Linked DNA regions of Homo sapiens: region 1 is linked to region 2. The links are contacts of gene promoters, found by promoter capture Hi-C in human tissues and cell types (Jung and others, 2019). All regions are on one chromosome and are shown on one strand. The core of a region is centred on a gene start or on the middle of the fragment in contact, and the rest is flanking DNA. Distances in the headings are between cores, read along the strand shown. Region 1 overlaps ATP8B2 (ATPase phospholipid transporting 8B2). Region 2 holds the start of GATAD2B (GATA zinc finger domain containing 2B).

The links. The method cuts DNA at HindIII sites, captures the fragments that hold promoters and counts their contacts. A contact is called where the count stands out against the background at its distance.
Region 1: a contact is called between a fragment that was not itself captured here and the fragment with the promoter of GATAD2B in region 2, in 1 of the 25 tissues and cell types used here (heart right ventricle).

What each region holds. Positions count from the first base shown.
Region 1 is chr1:154,334,242-154,337,588 of GRCh38, reverse strand. It overlaps ATP8B2 (ATPase phospholipid transporting 8B2), which reads right to left. Exons shown (of 28, transcript NM_001370597.1): 10 at 3,324-3,347; 11 at 2,998-3,086; 12 at 45-241. Among named protein-coding and RNA genes, the nearest start is that of ATP8B2, 10 kb to the right of the region's middle. The HindIII fragment of the contact is 3,033 bases long and covers 1-3,025 here.
Region 2 is chr1:153,920,891-153,924,558 of GRCh38, reverse strand. It overlaps GATAD2B (GATA zinc finger domain containing 2B), which reads left to right and starts at 1,587. Exons shown (of 11, transcript NM_020699.4): 1 at 1,587-1,826. LOC101928059 (a long non-coding RNA gene) reads right to left here and starts at 1,186. Exons shown (of 4, transcript XR_922160.3): 1 at 597-1,186. RefSeq lists silencers at 512-806, 1,484-1,803 and an enhancer at 1,114-1,353. The HindIII fragment of the contact is 10,081 bases long and covers 1-3,668 here.

The DNA of each region.
Region 1 (3,347 bases), core at 260-2,759, 410 kb before region 2:
CGCCTGACTCCCTGGAGAGACCCCAGGTCAGAGAAGGCACATACCTGACATAGAGTGAAATGGGCACAACGGTGTTGAGGATGATGATGTAGGACCAGAAGGAGAGGAAGCCAGAGAAGAAGGCACTGTCCACTGCCTCATCCCACGGCAGGTAGACCTGGAAACGCATCCCCACCTCGTGCTCCCAGATGGCATTGCCAATGGCCAGGATCACCCCCATGCAAACCAGGAATCCAAAAATCTGGGGAGGAATGAGAAGCACAGGCGAGGCTGACATGTAGGAAGCCCTCAAAACCAAGTGCATCTGTGATGTATTCATCCCTTGAGCCCTCAAAAGCTCAGATGCTCTAGTGCAAGCTTGTCCAACCCATGGTCTCTGGGCCACATGTGGCCCAACACAGATTCATAAACTTTCTTAAAACACTATGAGATTTTGGTAACAGCTGAATGTTAAATGAAAAATAATTATAAAAAAAAAAAAAACTATTATGGGCTGGGCGCAGTGGCTCAAGCCTGTAATCCCAGCATTTTGGGAGGTTGAGGCGGATGGATCACCTGAGGTCAGGAGTTTGAGACCAGCCTGGCCAACACGGTGAAACCCCGTCTCTACTAAAAACATTAAAAAAATTAGCCAGTCCTGGTGGCACTTGCCTGTAGTCTCAGCTACTCAGGAGTCCAAGGCATGAGAATTGCTTGAACCCGGGAGGCAGACATTGCAGTGAGCCAAGATCATGCCACTGCATCCCAGCCTGGGCAACAGAGCAAGAACCTGTCTCAAAAAAAAAAAAAAAAAAGGCCAGGTGCAGTGACTCACACCTATAATCCCAGCACTTTGGGAGGCCAAGGCGGGCAGATCATGAGGTCAGGAGTTCGAGACCAGTCTGGCCAACATGGTGAAACCCCATCTCTCATCTCTACTAAAAATACAAAAAAATTAGCCGGGTGTGGTGGCGGGCACCTGTAATCCCAGCTACTAGGGAGGCTGAGGCAGGAGAATCACGTGAACCCGAGAGGCAGAGGTTGCAGTGAGCCGAGATAATGCCATTGCACTACACTCCAGCCTAGTGACAGAGTGAGACTCCGTCTCAAAAAAAAAAAAAAAAAATTTATGAGATTTTTTTTTGCAATTTTTTTTTTCTAAGCTTATCAGCTATTGTTAATGTTAGTGTATTTTATGTGTGGCCCAAGACAATTCTTCTTCCAATGTGGCCCAGGGATGCCAAAATATTGGACACCACTGCTCTAGTGGAAAAAGCTCAGAACTGGTGACAGGTTCTAGTCTGTCACCAATTATCATGTGGCCTTCTGTCTGACCATTATTTCATCTATATGATGAAGAAACTGAAATAGTTGATTAGCTCTCAATCTGGCACCTTGAAACCTTCCAGAGTCCTCAAAGTTGGTAAGAGTGGGGATGAGCTACTTTTAACATACCAGAAAACTTACTGTAAATAATCTATTCACCTGGGCTAGGTACAAGCCAACAAAAATGCCAAGCCACGGTAATGTTCACTATCTCACATAGATGGCCTTTTTTTTTTTTTTTTGAGATGGAGCCTTGCTCTGTCGCCCAGGCTGGAGTGCAGTGGCGCGACCTCGGCTCACTGCTGCAAGCTCCACCTCCCGGGTTCACGCCATTTTCCTGCCTCAACCTCCCAAGTAGCTGGGACTACAGGTGCCCGCCACCACGCCCAGCTATTTTTTTGTATTTTTAGTAGAGATGGGGTTTCACCATGTTGGTCAGGATGGTCTTGATCTCTTGACCTCGTGATCCACCCACCTCGGTCTCCCAAAGTGCTGGGATTACAGGCGTGAGCCACTGCACCTGGCTAAGATTGCCTTTTTTTTTTTTAAACTTGGGAAACAAACTTATCTTCATAAACGTAGATTTCTTTTTTGAAACAGGGTCTTGCTTTGTTGCCCAGGCTGGAGTGCAGTGGCATGATCCTAGCTCAACGCAGCCTCAATCTCCCAGGCCAAGCAATCCCCCCGCCTCAGCCTCCAGAGTAACTGGGACCACAGGTGCATGCCACCAAACCTGGCTAATTTTTCAGTTTTTTGTAAAGACAGGGTCTCACTATGGTGTCCAGGCTGTTTTCGAACTCCTAGGCTCAAATGATCCTCCCACCTTGGTCTCCCAAAGTGCTGGGATTACAGGTGTGAGCCACCACTCCTGGTCTAGATTTCCTGATTAGTCAAAAATCTTATAAATTTTGGAGTCTCTGGAGAGACTGGTAAAAAACCAGGCCACTGTCCAATTTCCTACATCTATTTCCAAAGCTGCCTCCGCTGTTTAGGCTTTGAAACAAAATAGGAGATTGGTGCCCAATGGCCACCAGGGGGCGACTGGAGCCCTTATGTGATAGACAACCTCGCCCACCAGGCTGGGTTTCCGCACACTCTTTAAAGCCAGGGCGGAAACAAGCTCACCAGAGGCTAGCCCCAGCCTTCACAAGCTGGCATGTGGCGGGCAGGCAGCAGACAGTCGGGGCACAGGAAGGGGAGGAGAGCCCAACAAGGAGTTCAGATTTCTAGCTAAACAAGAGAAGGATTCAGGAACTGCCAAAAACTTAAACAGAAACTTTTCCTTTGGGATCCTTCGTTCTTAGAAGTTGGGGGGAAAAGACCCTGCCAACCTCTTCCAAATGGAAATTTTTCTTTTAATTCCCTCTCCATCCCCATGAAGGCCTCCTTGTCCCTGGCAAAAGCAAACAGAAGGTCACATGCTTCACAAAGTCATCATCATAACTGGAATCAGAGAAGGGATGATTTGTTTTAGCTTTAAGTTGTTGATTCATGCACGTTCCTGAAGTTTTTTTAAATAACATCTTCCAACTAAAAGGAGCCTAAAATAAACACTGCCTTTGTGTAGCTGACCTGCTAGCAGCTTTAAAGCCAAACCTGAAGTCTACTGACCAAAGAAGAAAGAGGAAAGGAAAAGGAGCACCCAAGGAGAAGAGAGGGCAGGGGCAGGGAGCCAGATGTGGGGCGCCTCACCCAGAGCACCAGGGTATTCATTAGGCGATCGATACTCGTTCTTTTGAACTTTGTTCTGCCGCTGTTTTGCATCAGCTTAGTGTCGGGACCTGGAAAAGAATGGGAAGGGCTGGGAAAGCCAAATAACACATCTGCCTCTGGGCTTCTGCCCTGATCCCCAGACTGCAGGACACCAGGGTGGAATAGAGATACTGGCTAGATAAGAAGCCTGTATACACAGCTGGAGGTTTTTTACCTTAGGTATTCTCCCACCTCATCCCATACTCCTGAGTGAGGGCTGGCTGAGTCACTCTTACCCTTCTTTCTTTGGATGCTAGGAGGCTCACCTGCAAAGATGACCAGCCCGAAGC
Region 2 (3,668 bases), core at 338-2,837:
TAGGATCTACCTACGGCTTTAAGTTGCCATGTCCTCCATTATAATTTCATTTCCATTGCACAGCATGACTTTTAAATAATTTAAAAAACATGTTCAAATACCTGTGGAGGCTGGCGTGGTGGCTCACACACCTGTAATCCCAGCACTTTGGGAGGCTGAGGCAGGAGGATCACCTGAGGTCAGGAGTTCGAGACCAGCCTGGCCAACATGGCGAAACCCCGTCTCTACTAAAAACACAAAAATTAGCCGCGCGCCTGTAATCCCAGCTACTCGGGAGGCTGTTGAGGCAGGAGGATCGTTTGAACCTGGGAGGCGGAGGTTGCAGGAACTGAGATTGTACCACTGCACTCCAGCCTGGGAGACACAGTGAGAAAACAACAATAACAAAATGCCTGTGGAACCAGTTGTTTCTGGGTTTAAACCACTGCTTAGTCACTAACTAGCGGTCTGACCTTTGGCAAGTTACTTAACCTCTCTGAGCCTTAGTTTCCTCATCTACTTGGGTTCAAATTTCAGCTCTACCACTTAACGTGTAACTGGACAAATTTTTTGATCCTAATTTTCCTCATTTGTAAAGTAGGGATAACAGTACCTACCTCACAGTCATGAGGAATAAATACTTCATGTAAAGTTCTTAGCACAGAGCCTGACACAGTCTCTTTCCAAAAACGTTAACTACTATCATAACCTTAACACCCGGACTCTGTTACTTGGTCCCTATCCTCAAGGTGCTCCAGAAACGCTCGCTGAGTTTAGGCGGGCCTAACTGCTCCGTGGAAGCAGGGAGGCCAGCAAAAGGAGCTGGCCCTTGAGTTAATTAGGTGGAATCGGGCGGGGTGGGAGGCTGTTTCCTCGCTGAGAACCTAACCAGACCAGGAGTTCCCAAGAGAAGGAGCTGCGAGGGCTCTGCACACCGTAATTCCTCAGCAACTTGGCTAGCTGCTTTTTTTTTTTTCCTGCTGTCGTGGTTTAGTCACGACAGGACCAAGCGGAGGTACGATGAACACCAGGAAGCTCAAAGCCTTTGGCAGACGGAGACAGGCCACACCCCAAAAAGACGGCAAGGCTCAAGCGCCTAAAGCTAGTTCTATCGTGAAATTTCCTAGAGTCTGTCGCGACGAAACACCGCCCACCGCAGACCCCATCGCCGTTCGCCAGTCTCCATCTTTAGAATTGAAAGAATGAGAGATGGCCAAAGGGGAATCCCGGTTTGGAGAGACTGGGGTACGGCGGCTGCCTGGGGACCAAAACGTCTCTAAGGTAAAGTTGCAGCCTGAAGCGATTTTTTGACCCCCGACACTTAATGGGCTGTCGAAGACCCGGATGTGTCTGGGACTGGCAGAGGTACCCATTAACGCGCCCCCGCTAGACCATCCCCCCTCCTCCGTTTATGATTGGGTTTTAAGCACGCCAATCATCACTTCTCCGGCCACTCATTCTTCAAGGGTGGGGTGAAGTCCCGGCATCTAGTCTTCTACTGGCATGGCCGAGAAGATGAGGGCGGGGTGGCCGGCTTAGGTCGCCCAATGGGCGTCGTGGCGTGTGGGTAAGGCGGAGCCGAGGCGCTTGGCAGCTGCCCAATCAGCGTCCTTGTTTGTGTGGTGCCGCCGCCGCCGGTGCAGCCGTCGCCGCCGCCGCTGCCCCCGTCTGTACCGCAGTGTCTGCTCCGCCCGCCCGCCCCGGTCCGGCCCGCCCCCCTCCCCTACCCCCGTCCCTAGTCCCGTCAGCAGGGTCTGGATCCCCTGTGCCGTCGCCTCTTCCTTTTTCGACGCCTCCGCCGCCGCCTGAGGAGGCGAGCTAGCCGGGAGTTACACCGCCACCGCCAGGTGAGGAGCTTTGGCCTAGGCCAGCCTGGCCGCCCGCCCGCCCGGGGGCGGTGAGGAGCGAGGAAGGGAAGGAGGCTGGGAGGAGGCAGTGGTGGCGGAGGTGGGGGAAGGGAAAGGTGGAGGGGCGGGGGGAGGGGAAGCGCCCGCGAGCCGACGCCCGCCCGCGCGCCCCCGCCTTGCGTCCCCCTCCCCCCACCCCGGCACGGCGCGCCCCCGCCTCGCGCTCCTTCTTCACCTCATCCTCTCCCCCCTTGGCGCGCGCGACCCGGTCTTTCACTTCGGCCTCGCGCGCCCCCAGCTCGTGTCCCTTCATTTCGTCTCCTTGTACTCTTTCTCCCCTCCCTCACGCCCCGTTTCCCCCGCCATCCCCGCTTTCACTCCCTGCCTCATGCCCGCCATGCTCCCCTCCTTTCCTCTCTAGCGCGCCCCCCCCTTTTTTTTTTTAACTCTCTCCACCCCCAGTGGTGCCCTCAGGGTGCGGGGGCCGCTCCCTGCTCAGTCTTGTGTTTGCGGGCGGATGGGACGAATGGGGAATCTAAGGGTAAAGGAAGCACCAGATAATTATCTTTATTTAGGGAAAGGGATCAGGAGCGCATAACCTTACCCCTTTATTTCGTCGTCCACCGTTCGCTCGCCCTCCCGTAGGGGAAGAGAATTGTCTCAGGCTATGTGGGCACTTAGCTTCTACAGCGACTGGGCTTGTGGGACACACTGGATCTGTCTTCCAGTTCAGTTCCTGAGGGTCGGTGGAACTTACCCTTCCCTAACCACACCGGGACTTAGAGTACTTTTGGCCTCCCTGCTCTCAATTACATTGAGGAGCGAGCCACTCATGCGAGTGCAGAGGTTCAGGTGCCATTCGCGCGCCCGGTACAGCTTTCCCGTTTCATAAAGGTATGGTAGCCTCTTTGGATTCTTCCCCAGCATCAACTTCCAAACACAAGATGTTAGCTCATAGGGCTGGCAGTGAGGTGGAGATGGAGGCTTGGTGGTGGGTGGCATGTGGATGCTAACTGAGCTAGCTAGCAACCTTTTCTCTGTTGTCCCCTGGAAAATCAGGTAGCCTCCTGAGAACCAGTTTTCTCATTTCTGATAAATGCTTATTTGGGGGGCGTGTGTGTGTGCGTGTGTGTGTGTGTAAGAGAGAGAGAGAGATGGGGGGATACTTAATACATTTCAGCAGAGGCGAAGGATACTTAATATATTTCAGCAAAGGGCAAGAGCAGTGTTTTCAGGCCAGACTGCAAAAGAGGGATTTGGATTTGTAGCTGATGGAATTAAAACAGGTTTAACAGATCTGTGTTGGAGAAGAGCTGATGCTTTTGTAGTTTTTAGGACATTTTTTCTAAAAATTTATATTTTGAGTAGAAAAGCATGCATGTGGTTGTACAAAGTGAAAAGTAAGCTTCCTTCCCATCTCTGTCCTCCAGCCATCTAGTCTCCTTCCCCTCCTAGCACAGATGACTTTGATGTTTTCTGGCAGCAGCATGGTGCCTATATGTTGTTGGTGATTATCCTGTTTGGGAGTTTAGTGCTAACTTTATTGCTTTTCATTTGGTATGCTGACCTGAACTCTTCCTTGCAGTCTGATAACTTGGATTCTTATTTTGGTGCTGGAGCAGCCTTTCAAGTATTGTCCTAGAGTAGTATTTCTGTCAGTACTTAGTTGGGAAGGAGGCCACTTCTGGAGGTGCTATGGAGGAGTTCAGTATATTTTGAGGGAAGGCCCACACTTGTTGGATCGTGCTGCTTTTTTTGTGACGGATATCTAGTCCCTGGCCATTTGGGAATGGACTGGGTCAAGGATCGGATTCATATAAGCAGATAGCTTATATGAATAAC